Linked DNA regions of Homo sapiens: all the other regions are linked to region 1. Evidence: promoter capture Hi-C in 16 types of primary human blood cells and fetal thymus (Javierre and others, 2016). All regions are on one chromosome and are shown on one strand. Each heading gives the region's core, a stretch centred on a gene start or on the middle of the fragment in contact. The rest is flanking DNA. Distances are from core to core; before and after follow the strand shown.

What was found. The method cuts DNA at HindIII sites, captures the fragments that hold promoters and counts their contacts. A CHiCAGO score of 5 or more calls a contact.
Region 2: a contact is called between a fragment that was not itself captured here and the fragment with the promoter of CHSY3 in region 1, in 1 of 17 cell types (endothelial precursors). The highest score is 6.2, in endothelial precursors.
Region 3: a fragment that was not itself captured here is called in contact with the fragment with the promoter of CHSY3 in region 1 in 1 of 17 cell types (M1 macrophages); the score reaches 5.0 in M1 macrophages.

Annotation. Positions count from the first base shown.
Region 1 is chr5:129,902,895-129,907,334 of GRCh38, forward strand. CHSY3 (chondroitin sulfate synthase 3) reads left to right here and starts at 1,571. Exons shown (of 3, transcript NM_175856.5): 1 at 1,571-2,737. The coding sequence starts at 1,936. It overlaps CHSY3-AS1 (CHSY3 antisense RNA 1), which reads right to left and starts at 3,033. Exons shown (of 3, transcript XR_002956248.2): 1 at 2,948-3,033. RefSeq lists a silencer at 1,729-1,938. The HindIII fragment of the contact is 4,826 bases long and covers 1-4,164 here.
Region 2 is chr5:130,705,569-130,710,140 of GRCh38, forward strand. No RefSeq gene overlaps it. Among named protein-coding and RNA genes, the nearest start is that of HINT1, 460 kb to the right of the region's middle. The HindIII fragment of the contact is 3,590 bases long and covers 1-3,181 here.
Region 3 is chr5:130,883,847-130,888,776 of GRCh38, forward strand. No RefSeq gene overlaps it. Among named protein-coding and RNA genes, the nearest start is that of HINT1, 280 kb to the right of the region's middle. The HindIII fragment of the contact is 1,569 bases long and covers 1,819-3,387 here.

The DNA of each region.
Region 1 (4,440 bases), core at 321-2,820:
GGAGCTTCATTGTCCAGCAGATGAAACATTTAGTCAGACGTGCTCATGCACAGCCAGGGACCGGTGTGGAAAGAACCATTCCTCCAAAGGCTCCAGGCAGGCCTAGTGTTCCAGGGACGCTGCCAGCACCTCGCTGGATCGAGCCATTATGTCTAATGCCATTCAATACCATCCCTTTGCGTTTGATGTCTAAAACAGAAGACTGAAATTTGAAGAGAAGGAAGTACTTGGGATGCCAAATGCACCCCAGACTATAGCTTTATGCACAACCTTTAGAGAGAAATTTGTTAATGCTCCCTTCTTCAAAAATCATATACCTTCAGGTAATTTCTTCCTAACGTAACTAAGGCACAATGATTTTGGCCAATACAGCTTAACTTTTTTTGAGATTCTGTTGCTGGACAATTTTCCTCCCTCATTGGAGAGGTAAAATTTTCCTGTCTTTGCCTTAGAAAATAAAACGGTTCATAGGCAAGAATAAAAATCATATCCTCCATTTTATTTTTTGATTAAGTTCACTTATTTTGTGGGGGTAAGAATTTCTTTCGTTTGGATCTTCAGGGTATTGGCCCTGTGAATGTGTGCCCATTTCTCCACTATTTGCCAGTCCCACTGAGCCAATCTTCTACCAAGACTGAAAATAGACCATAGTTCTCATTTCTTGAACAGATATCATCAGGAGAGCCGAGGGGGAGACCATTAGGCAGCCCCACATTTTCCAACTCAACAGGTGGAGGACATGGGATTTTTACGTTCTTTGGGGATTGAACCCCCACACACCACCAACTCCCTTAGCCTTTCAGGATAAGTATTTCCAATCCCTCAGAGATTTTCTTAGGAGAGACCCTAACGACAATGGTGCTTCTGTGAAGGACTGAGGAGAGCTGGTGGACGATGCAGGTAGGAGGGAAGTTAGGCTGGGAGGAGAGGTGCTGGGATGGGACGTTTGGTTTCCTGACAAGTGACCGACTAGAGAGAGAAGGCGCGGAGTGGCAGCGGTAAGAACAACGTGGAAAGGACGGAAAACGCGAAGAGTGGCGCCCTGGCGGACCTGGGGCGGGGCAGAGTGGTAAGGGTCACGCCAGGACGTACCCGGCTGTGGGCCGGGGGAGGAGAGCACGGTGGGACAGCAACGAACTTGCTGGGGGCTCCCGGACCCGAGCTCCGCCGATGAGGTCAGCGGAGCCTAGGCGCCGGGAGGAGGCCAGTAGAGCCCCCAGACACGAGTGTCGGGAGGCCAGCGGAGGGGCGGGACGGGACGGGAAATGGGACGAAGAGCAAGAGCTGGGGGAGGAGGGAAGAGGGGGCGTCGGCGCTGCAAGCCGGAGGCGGCCCGACAGGGATCGTTTCCTTCCGGAGAGGAGGCCGGCTCTGGACTGAGGCGCGGACGGGGGGCGTCCAAGGGCGGGTGACGGGGAAATACCGCGGCCCGCGCTTCTCTCCGGCTGGCAGCGGTGCCGCCTGCGGCTCCTCCTCCGGGCCAGCTCGGAGCCCGGCGGCGGGGGGAGCGGGAGGCGGGAGTGAGGGCGGGGGCTCGGGAAGGAGGGAGGAGGGAGGGCCCAGGCGCGCCACTGACAGGGTGGCAGCCTAGGAGCGGACGCGTTGCCGCCGCCGCTGCTCCTCCTCCTCCTCCTGCAGCTCCTCCAGCTGCCGCTGCTGCCGCCGCTGCCGCCACCGCCGCCGCCGGGAGAAGTTTCACTCCCGACCCTTGCTCGGAGCCCCGGCCCAGAGCTGAGCGGGAGCCCGGCAGGCAGCTGCAGCCCGCGGCAGTCGAGGCGTCCGCGGCGCTTCGACCTCCAGCCGGTGTCGGCGCCTAGGCGGCCGGCTGCGGCCGCGGCTGGGGGCGCAAAGGCGGAGGAGGGGCGGGTGTGAGCCGGGGAAACCGCGTGCCGCGCCGCGACAGCCCAGCGAGCGTCCGCGCCCGGGACAGCCGCGATGGCTGTGCGCTCTCGCCGCCCGTGGATGAGCGTGGCATTAGGGCTGGTGCTGGGCTTCACCGCCGCGTCCTGGCTCATCGCCCCCAGGGTGGCGGAGCTGAGCGAGAGGAAGAGACGTGGCTCCAGCCTCTGCTCCTACTACGGTCGCTCTGCTGCTGGCCCCCGCGCCGGCGCTCAGCAGCCGCTCCCCCAGCCCCAGTCCCGACCACGGCAGGAGCAGTCGCCGCCCCCCGCGCGCCAGGATCTCCAGGGGCCACCGCTGCCCGAGGCAGCACCCGGGATCACCAGTTTTCGAAGCAGCCCCTGGCAGCAGCCACCTCCGCTGCAGCAGCGGCGGCGAGGACGCGAGCCTGAGGGCGCGACGGGGCTTCCCGGTGCTCCAGCGGCCGAGGGGGAGCCCGAGGAGGAGGACGGGGGCGCGGCTGGGCAGCGGAGAGACGGCCGGCCGGGGAGTAGCCACAACGGCAGCGGGGACGGGGGCGCTGCCGCCCCGAGCGCCCGACCCCGGGACTTCCTGTACGTGGGGGTGATGACCGCGCAGAAGTACCTGGGCAGCCGCGCGCTGGCCGCGCAGCGGACCTGGGCGCGTTTCATCCCGGGCCGCGTGGAGTTCTTTTCCAGCCAGCAGCCCCCCAACGCCGGCCAGCCCCCGCCACCCCTGCCTGTCATCGCGCTACCGGGTGTGGACGACTCCTATCCTCCCCAGAAAAAGTCCTTCATGATGATCAAGTACATGCACGACCACTACCTGGACAAGTATGAGTGGTTCATGCGCGCCGACGACGATGTCTACATCAAAGGTGACCTCCCTGCGCCGGCTTTCCAGCCTGCCAGTCTCCCCGACTCCTTTCTCTGTAACCGGTCCTAGCCCCTGCCCAGCCCCTCCGCTGCTTCTCTGCCAGCACGTGCTTCGGGCTCCCACAGGCCCTGGCCCGCCCTCCCCACCCCTTGCATCCGCCCACAATTCGTAGCCCGTTCCTCGTCTTCTGCAATCTGGACCCTCCTCACACCTGCCTGGCTTTATTCGCCTTCCTCACTTGCTGTTTTCGGTGCCGCCTCGCGCTTGTCCCTTAGTCTTTACCTCGTCGGAGAGGTTAGAAAAGGAACCTTAGAGCTAAACCAAAGGCCATTCCCACTCTGCCCTCCTCTGAAAGCCCCTGCTGATGGTAGTTTCCCCAATCGGTCCAGAGGGGCGTGGTCTTCAGGAAGGGAAGACGGAGGATGCTAGCTACAACTAGTCTGGAGATCCAGTGTTCTGGCTTTGGATCTTGCTCTTTTGTTTAAACTGGATCTAGCGCACTTTTGGAACTGCTCAGATTGAGGAATCGTCTTCGCTGTCCCGGACCCTTTCCTATGTGTTCCCTTCCCTTTGGCTCAACTCTCCACATACTGGGAGTCCTTGGCCATCCCCACCGTGCCAGCGCGCTGCTCCTTCCAGCCGCTACAGTTCAGCACCAAGCCGTCCCCCATCCCCCCGCCACACCTCAATAAAACCCTGAGAGGATGGGCATGTTGTAAGGAATTGGTGGTGGGGGAAAAGAGGAAAGCACCCGCTAATAAGCCAGACCCCTGGGAACAGCAGACTGTACTAGCACACACTAGTATTGGTTCCTTTCCAGTGCATTTTGTTGGCCGCGGTGATAAGCAGAGGCTGGAAGTCCTTCCCAGAACCACAGGCAGCCACAGCAAGAAAAAACTTTTTTTGTCAGTTTAAAAGAGGCGCGGTCTTTTTCCCGGAATGTGGGCGGCTCTGGACAGAGAATTTCTAAACTCAGCGGATCAAAGTTCTTTAGGTCAGAGAAGTGAATCTTTCCAGTCCAGCCAGTTGCTGAGATGGGGAGCAACGCAAGGGAAGCAGCAGGGTTGTACCGAATGAGGTTTCTCTGTGTTTTCCACATTTCCTTGCTTCCCGGTCAAAGGGGGGCAGCCCTTCCTTATTTTATGCCTTTCTACTCGTAGCCTCATTGCTTCCTCCTGATTCGGATAGTACTTTTCACATAATGCAAGAAAAACGAACAAAAAGCCAAACAATAAACCCAAACTGTTGCATTTTGGCACAAGGAATTAGTGTAATCATAATAACTAGAGATTTCTTGGCTTTGGATTGGAAGGAGGGAAGTCACTCTAGAGCAGGTTGGAATAGAAAATACTGATAATTGGATATAAAAATAAAGAATGGTCTCATTACATTTTTAACAGTGGTATTTAGGATTGACTCAAAGAAGAAAGCTTCCTCTACTTTAAGTTCCTTGCCTTGGATATCTCAAAATTACAAAGGTTTCCTGGCAGAAGTTTGCCACATTTTGCAGGGAATTTATAAAATGCATTAACAGCACCTACTTCTTTCATTTGTTTTAATACTTTGAAAGATTGTCCTTCAGAACATTAAAATGACATATTATTTCAATTTCTATTAAGAATGAAATGTGTTTTGAATTAAGAATCCAATAATAGCTGAAACTCATTGAGATACACGGGGCAAGGCATGGGATCAAGATAATGA
Region 2 (4,572 bases), core at 137-2,636, 800 kb after region 1:
TTAATATTTACCCAAAACCTTGGTAATGAGTCACAGGTTTTTCCATATTAAAATGAAATAATATAGAAAAACCTTGTTAAATTGACTATTCTTGTTCTATTAGGTAACAACATAAAGTACACCAATACTGCGAAGTTGTCAACTAAAATCATGTCCAATAATATTTGCCTCTATTTCACTGAGTTCCCTCTGGAAAACCCATTAAAATAAAAGGCCAGCTTGATGTAGAAGGAAGTGGTAAAAGATTGTGAAAAGAAAGCAGGGAAAAGTTTCTAAAAATCAGGGGTTGTGATCCCAAAGCTATAGTTATATGAATTCTAGACCAAGATTTTTCAAATTGTTCAGTTTTCCTTACTTTGGAAATAAAAGTCTTCAGAATCTTGATTATTCAGCAAGATTTTAATTATATATGTAGAGTTTTTAATCTATTGCCATTTATATAAATAACATGTATAATAACTTGTAATAAAATAAAATAATAGTTTATGGCCGATGACTCATCATAAGGAGGGAAATAAAACATTTTTAAATAAAAGAAAAAAGGAATAATAGAAGAAAGAAAAAAATATTTATTAAGTACACTCTACAGTGAGATTGAGATTTTTTTCAAAGGCAAATTATTCCTCTTTACCTGAATCACAAAAAACAATTATACACTTTTTGTCTGTAAGTGCCTATATTTATACTCTTTGCTTTCAGATGGGGTCCTTTAATTGCCCTAAGCACATCTGCAATAGGATGAAGGCAAACTTGTGGATTTGTACTTAAAATAAGAGAAACTAAAGTAAGAAGTTGTTTTAAACTACGAGAAGAAATAAAGCGTACACTCATATGGTATACTTGCAATTACTGATGCAATTTTCCTCTTCTAACCTCTCTCTTCCTACCCCACTATTCCAACATACTGAGGAAGAGAGCACACTCTGATAAAGCCGTGCCCTAGCCAATGTAAAAGATGTGAAATCAACAATGAGGCTTTTACTCTTCAAATTAGGAATAGGTGGGGATAATTTCACAGCTCCTCAGAGGCAGCTCTCAGGAGAACCACAAACACAGAACTCAGTGCCTGAGCCTTGCTGCCTCCAAAGGAAGCCAAGACCCTGTTCTCCCTGAAGAATAGCTATGAAAGATGAGTGCAAAATCACAGTGCTTTAGACTATTTAACAATTTCCTGGTAGCAGAAAATAATTCATAGGCATCTGTAGAGTAACATGAGGTATAACGATTCAATTGCATTTTGATTATGAAGAAATCTACTATGCTGGAATCTGCAGAAATATGAGTCAGTACGTATTGTTTTTGCAGTATTGTTGGCGCTCATAGTTCCTAAGGGAGAGCATTGTTTAAGCTACTCCTTTGCTCATCATGTAAATTATTTCACCTCAGTAGTTCAAGAAAAATGCTAAATTGCTAATTCCTTGATGCAGTTTCAGTAAAAGTTGAATCGTCCCCCTCTGGTTTTGACTGTGATGAAAGTTTTGTTATATACGTCAGAATTGTTTGTCAAGATGTTTCATTGATCAGGAAATGCCTTTGTCTATCCAAAAAGCCTAATGAAAGAGTCTCACAGTGAGCAGCTCTCCTTTTGACAGCATGAGTTTTTACTAGGTATATGGATGCAATCCTCAGCCACAATAGAAAAAAAGACAACTTTAGGAGTGCAGTGAAGTTTGGAAAGCATAAGGATGCCAGAGGAAATCAATGGTATATGTCACTTGCTTCACAACTTTCTATACTCGCCTTCAAATTACAGGGTTCTGTGTCCTTGGAAAGCAGAATTCTTTGTGGACTCATTTCAGAGTTTTCTCTGAATATGAATGCTCCAGTTCCCTATACTGTCACCAAGAGAGATTGACTAGGATGAACCTTCACCTGTATAGTTTGTAAAAACAACAACAAAAATCTCTTCAATATTAACATATACACCAAATAGTACAATGCCTGCACTTAAGATACTACCATTCATTAATCTACAATGTTCTTAATGCTCATGAACAATTTGGAACACAAATAACCTGCCCATTGAGAGAGCAACTGTATATTTTTTTTTCCCAAGGCAGAACATCTGTGAGTAAGGGGGTTAGAATTGGTCCAGAACCTACTCCTCTGCTCCTTTCTGCTGGATAGTCGAAAAGAAGCTGTCTGAAGAAAACCCAGAGAAAAACAATAACAATAGTGATATTCCCTCTGGGCAACACAATCGCATGTTAGTGGAGGATTTCTGAATACACAGTACCTTAATACAAAAGAATTAGAAGTCTTGTGAGAAATCAGTGGGGAAGATAATTTGTGGGTGGGAACAGAGAGTAGAGAGTTGAATTTAGGAGTCGAGGTTGTGCCAGTGGAATGATTGGGGTTATCATCCCACAAAAACCAATGACATACTTGAGCTAGTTCCTTCCGTTCTCTGAGAATTATGTTCCTTGTCTATGGAATGAGGACTGACAAAATTTTCTTTAAGATTTATTGAAGTTTGAATATGGTATGTAAGGAATCTTCTTTTTAAAAACACAACAAAAGATCACTGCAATCACACAGGTTGCCATTTTCTTTCCTACCTTGGTTTTAGGTTATACAGTTGAGGCAACATTTTCGTTAAGAAATCAGACCTCAGAATATGGCCCACCTGTGTTTGAATACTGGTACTTCCACCTACCAGCTGCGTGATCCAGGGAAAGTTGTCTAACAGGTCTAAGCCTCAGTTTCCCCACCTTAAAAATAGAGAGGGCAAGAACTGGCATTGTTGTGAACATTAAATGTTAATCATGTGGTGACCTGCAAAGTACCATGAACATGTGGATATTCATACAGAACATTCCACAAAATCATTGTTTTTTTATCACTACATTTTGCTCTTAGGAATGCTTTTACTCTTAAAGGGGACCAAAGACATTAGCCCAGTCATTTTTACCTTCGGCTTATGCAACAATCCATCCTTTTAAATCTTTTCAGAAGCCTGTAAAATTACCCATTTCAATTTATGTGATTGTTAGTTATAATTACCGATTGTGTCCCATAACCTTTCTCTCCTACCATTGCTTTAGATCTTCATTTCTATCACCTTCACATTTACATTTAAATAAACATAGAGAATCCTATTGACTCTGCCCATTTTGGTGAAACTAGAGAGATCTTTGCTTTTTCAGGCATTCTCCATTTTAAAAATAACTATTATTCAGCAAGCTTTTAATCACTTATTTTCAGGTTTCCAAGATTCTTCATATGCTGCCTAATTTTTCAAAAATTTGAAAAAGAGAAGAAACATTTCTGTAAAAAATAGTTCTTTCACGTAAAAAGAGTAGAAGAAAAATGTCAGAGATAAGGGGAGGGAAAGAATGAAAAGTCTGTGAGCAAGATGTCTGTCTCGTATGTTTGTGAGTCAGAGGAAGAATTGGGAAAAAAAAAAACCTATGGGGAGAGAGAAGGAAACAGATTGGGAGACTAATTTAAAGCAGAATCAACTAAAAGGAAGTTGAAGATTTGAAAAAATAAGACAGCAGCATCAAGAAGAGAAAGTCTGTTGAAAAGAGAAGCAATAAGAAAAACTTGTAGCAATTCATGTATATGACAAATTCAACCCACGTTTAAATAAAAATGCAAAGATTTCAAAAACACCAAAGAAGGATTTAATGAAAGGTTCTCATCACCCACAAATAATAAAGATTTTTTCCCTAACCTTTATTTTATTTATTTATGTTTTTGGACAAAGTGCATTTACTCTCAAATTTCTAAGCCTTATGTTGCTCTCTTGTACCATTTTCTCATTCATTTTACAATTATTCTTAAGGCCAAATAAGTTTTGACATGCAAATTTATGTTCTGTTCTTAAGTATGTTTCCCTCTTCCATCCCAAGAAGGTAGTTGGACTGCCATTCAAATTATCTATAAAAATTATCTAAAGTAGTACACTGAGAAAATATGCTTAGGCTTCTGGGTCTATGTATGTGATATCCTAGACGCCCCCCCAGATGTCATACTCACTGAAAGAAATTAAAGTTCTAGAAAGTAAATATTAATGCATATCAGTTCTTCCCTCAGCTGGCAAGAAACTAATCAATAATCAGAAGCCAAAAAATAAAGTGAAAGAACATTGCATAGGGATAGGTAAGTGTTCACCAACCCACCTGACTTTCACCTGGAGGCATCTGCTGAGCCTGGTGTCCCTGAGTATCTGTTCTGATGTTATGACAGGAACAGTGAGCCAAAGATTAATCCTAGCTCCTACAAGATGCAGAATCGAACAGAAGACTCCATATGCAGTTGGCACTCCAGAAGGCTATATCCCCAGTGCAAGGGTGAACTGGATATAAAAGCACATCAGAGAGGAAATCTGTTTGTCTTGATGGACAGAAAGAACAAAAAGAAATCCCCCTTATAAAGAGAACAGAATCACTGAGCCTCCAAAAGGTTTATAACTCAAGTGCTAAAGGGACTATTAGTAACAAAATAATATATTGGCTGTTATTTTTTAATATCCATTATCTTGACAAAATAAAGGAACCTATGTCCAGATTGTAGCAAAGAGAGGAATACTGAAAGAAAATGTATTTCTTTTATTGAACTTGGAAGAGA
Region 3 (4,930 bases), core at 1,353-3,852, 980 kb after region 1:
AAAGAGTAATTTATACACAAAAGGAAAAATGAAAGTATTGAATTTGGGAAGGAACATAAAGAAATAAAAGTAAGTTGATGCACTATCAGAGTTGTCATTTTAAGTTCTTTCAATAAAAATAAGGGCACAATGGTAATTTAAACACACACAGAGACACAAGACAGGAAGAGCTAAAGAATAAGAGAGCCAAATTCTGCCAGCATGTCAAAGGAAGGAATTGATAGGGAGGATCAGAAAACTGCAGAACAGAAATGAAGTCTAACTGTGAGTAATGAAAGAACTACAAAGGTTCTCAGTATAAAGAAGCAGCCAGAAAGAAAGGCACCCCATAGATTGCCTTAAGAACATTTGGCCTCTGCAGCAATAAATGTGCTGAGGTTTAGGGCCGAAGAGACAATAAAGACAGAGTCAGAGGGCAGTCAATGTGTGTAAATCAGTGACCAATGCATTTTCTGATGCCTTGTTCCCTATGGCTCCAGGCCTCAACTAGAACCACATGCCATTTCCACTGAAAGCCAACTTGGCAAACAGCATGTCACTCTCTACCTTCATTTAAAAATATCCAGCTGAGACGAATTATCACTAGAGCTTAAATTAAATAGCCCAATCATGACCAAATATAAACCTTCCATTTTTTATTGTACAAGAGGACATTTAATTTTTCCTTTAAAATGAAATAGCTATGATCAATATAGTGGGCACTGATTGGTGCTTCCCCAATTCCCCAGGACCGCTTCTGCCATCCCCACATACCCTTCCTCGGGCTTTGATGTGCTTTTACCTCCAAAGTTCTCTATGCAGGACTGTCTTCCACTAGGTGCTCTTGAGTCCTGGCACAGCTTGGGCTGCAATAGCAGGGAGCCAGAAGCACCTAGAAGTTTACCTCTGTACCTCCCTACCTTCCTCCTCTAGCGCAGGACTGGCAGGGAAATATGGAAGCCCATCTCCTCCCCTCAGGTCAAGACAATTCTGAGATGCATCTTCTACTCAGCAATGCCGCTGCAGGAATTCACTACACCCTCCCCAGGACTTTGCCTGAAACTAGCCCCTTACTTGGCTTCTGCCTTGCTCTGTCCTACCTCCCTCACACCCTTAACAGTTTCTCCTAGAAACACTTCCCAGTAAATCACTTGCACAGACAATCCTTGTCTTAGACAATCAGTGAAAGATGATTCTACAGTTTATATTCTTTAGGGCTTTAAGGTTCTGTCCAAACAATACATGCAAAACAAGATAAACAACTCCAAGACTTTGTTATAATGAGCCCTTGATTCTGTAGCCAAAGTCATAAACAGTGAGTTAGGGGCATCTCAAGTCCATAAAGTCACCAGTAATGTCATGAATGATGTCACTAGTGGCCTGAGATTTTTATGATGGAAAGTAATACAATGTTCCAGGGAGACCATGGACTTTGGAGCCAAACAGGCTTGCATGCAGTACTGACACAACAAATTACTAGTTACGTTCTCATTGGAAGCCTTAGATTCCAATTCTATAAAATAGTTAGATTCTGAATCTACAAAATTGCGATGCTGACCTTAAAGAGTTTGTAGCAGTAAATGAGTAAATATTTAACGTATCTAATACATAGTAAACACAAATTAGTATTTCATTTTGCTTTCTAAAGGGAATGATTTTGTCACAAGGAAACCAGAACTTATGGAAACATCTGTTTCCCTACAGTGAAAAGCCTTAAGCTAGAGCCCCAATTAATTATGTCATTAGCCACCAGTTTACATTTGGAAGAGGGTTACATAGCAATTGGGTTTTTTTTTCTGCTTGTTTACAGATAACCTTAAGGTTATCTTGAATTATTGAAGCTTGTTTCATTCATTCATTAATCCACGTTCACTGAGTGGTTATAGCCCAGGCACTGGGACATACAGAGGTAAAATAGACAGACACAATGCCAATAAACAAGCAAACAAGTAAGTAAAATAATTAGAGATGGTGATAAATAGCATGAGGGAAATAAACAGGGTAATGAGATGAAGTAACTGCACAAGGGAGGCTCACGACATTAAACAGCAGTCAGGAAATACCTCTCTAAGAGAGTGATATTTGAGCTGAGGGAAACAGGAGCCAGTGCTGTGAAGATCCAGGAAAGAATCTTCCAGGCAGAGGGAACAGCAGTCTAAGATGGGAGAGACCTTGGCACCAGTAGAAGTAAAGTGATCGGAATTCAGAAGATTATGTTAGAAGATGAAAATAGAGAAATGATCAGGAATAAGACCATACAGTTCCTCATGGCTATATTGAACGGTCTGACTCAATGGAGTACAGCCATGAGAAGAATTTTTGTTTCTTTCCAACCTTTATTCTTCAATGAATTATATCAAGTCTCCTTTGCCTTCCCTTTAAAGACATTTCAGACAGAATGGAAAACTCCATAGTCAATTTCAGTTATAAAACAAACCAGTCTAGTAACATTAAAAACAGTTTAAAACTTAACCCTCAAGTGCAGTTTAATGCTCTAATCTTTCCCTGCTGGGACTGGCCAGCACTTGGAGAGTGACAGTGTCAGCTCTTCCACTTCTCTCCCTCCTCCCCCTCCCTTTTCTGGGTTGCCCCTTCTCCATGGTTTGGAACTTTAGTGAATACAGGAGGAAAGGGGAGAATGCCTCTGACTTCCCTGGTGCTGCTGCTCATGCTCCTTGATGGTTGATGCTTTCTATGTCACAGATGTTCAAGGTCCCACTATCACACATGTAAGAGTATGTGCAGACTCTTCAGGAAGCCCCACAGAGAACACTCAGTTCTTTGATGTAGACAATCTACTCAGAGAGACCTCACCCAATCCACCCTGACTTCCCACCCCTCAGACATATAATCCATGATCTTTTGCTTCCAGCAACATGGCTGAAGCCCGGTTACCTTTCACAGTGCCCAACTAGTCCGTGAGAGAATCGTCCTTTACCTACTAAACACTGGAGCTGTGACTTCCCTAATGCTCAACTCTCTTTCCCCTAGTCTCACATTTTCCACATCCTGATTTCAAACCCACCGCATAAGCAAACATCCAACTTTCAATTCAGTGCCACTCACACCTCCTTCTTCAGACCCTCCCAGTCTCTGTGCTCTGTGAGTAGATCTCTTGGAGTGTCACTCCTTCATTTGGCTTAAATCAAAATAACCTACTCTCTTTTTGCCCAAAAAAAAGAAAGGAGAATCTACAGCACTCTCTCACAGACTGATAACTCAGTTTTCTCAAAGATCCTTTTATTTTCTTTATCTAGATGGATCATAGACAGGTAAAGAGGTATGTCAGGTGTGATAATGAAACTGAAGCTGTCTTTTCTTCCCAGTGCTATGGGGATGTGACTGATGGCACTCTTTGCAATGTGGAACTACAGAGCAGCTTTTTCATTTTGATTGAATACAATACAAAGCTTTTTGCTTTGAATACAATCTATGTGATGTATCTATTATTAATAAATGCTTGGAGATTATCTGCAGAACTTGACAGTGAAATTCAGATATATTAAAGCATAAATGTGTTCATTTATTCATCAGAATGTATTTATTTATTCATTAGTGTGATTTTTATTCTTAGAATGTGAACACATTTTTATCTCCTCTTCTAATTAATCTCTTAATTACTCAAGCCTGACCACTAATGAACAGCTGTGATTGCTAATATACTCTCCAACAAGAGATGGTCGTACGTTTTCCCAACCAATCATCCAAAAATATGTTTTCATCTCTCTCCCCCATTCTGTTAGAAATAATTTCTTCTAATAAATGCAGACACCTGGGAAGAGGTATAATAGGTTCTTTTCTTTTTTTAGTTGAGCTTCTTGTTTTTGTTTATAATGAAGGAGAAAATTAGATAAGCTGGATGCCTTAGTTACATAATGCCCCGCCTTTCTTAATTAACCACAGCTAATGTGCACAAGGTGACAATAAGAAAAATTAAACGAAAGAGGAAAAAAAAGTACTCTCAATGTTTTTAAGATCATAAAAGCAAAAGAGAACAACACATCGGGAAGTCACAGAAACACAATAAACCTTTATCTCTGACAATTAGTGATGATAGATGATTAAACAAAACCATAAATGCATAAATCAGCATGTCGTCCTGTAGCTAATGTGCCATGTGTCATGTTCTCAGTACATGGAGCAAGCCAGTTCTGAGGAATCTGAGGCTTCAATGAGTTCTAAAGAAAGTAAAATTCAGAAATGTTTTGCATGGCATTATTAGCCATAGGATATTGGTACCCAAGTATCCATTCCACATGTCTATGTAAGCACAGATCTAAGCAGTAAAACACAGTAGCCTAAGTTGGACAACGAGTTTGGGCATTCTTCCCTTTCCTTAAGCCCGCAGGTGCAGCAGATCAGGTACATGAAGCAAACACCCTTGTTCTCAGAGGCTCACCCCACACGTAGTCTTTGATACCATTAAAAGTCTTTGAAGTCACTGGGCTGCAGTCACACAAGCTGAAATCACCTTACATCATGTAGCTATATAAGATAGTTCTTCTCACCAAGACCGAAAAGAAACAGATGAAAACTTTTGAAATATAATGCATATTACCTTTCATAGAAAATTTCTATGAAAAATAAACCTCTAAAACAGAAAAACATGAACATTACATGTATCTGGTTTTTCTTCATTTGCTTTAGTGTTTCTTATTCCAAAACATTTTTTAAAACCGTGTGTGTGTGTGTGTGTACAGCTATCCCTCAGTGTCCATGGGGAATTGGTTCCAGGACCTCCTGCAGATACCAAAATCCAAGGATGCTGAAGTTGTTTATATAAAATGGTGTAGTATTTACATATTAACCTATACACGTTCTCCTGTATACTTTAAATCATCTCTGGATTACTTATAATACCTAATACAATGAAAATGCTATGTAAATAGTTGTTATACTGAATTTTTTATTTGTATCACTTTTATTGTTTTGGAGTAGGTTTTTTTTCAGA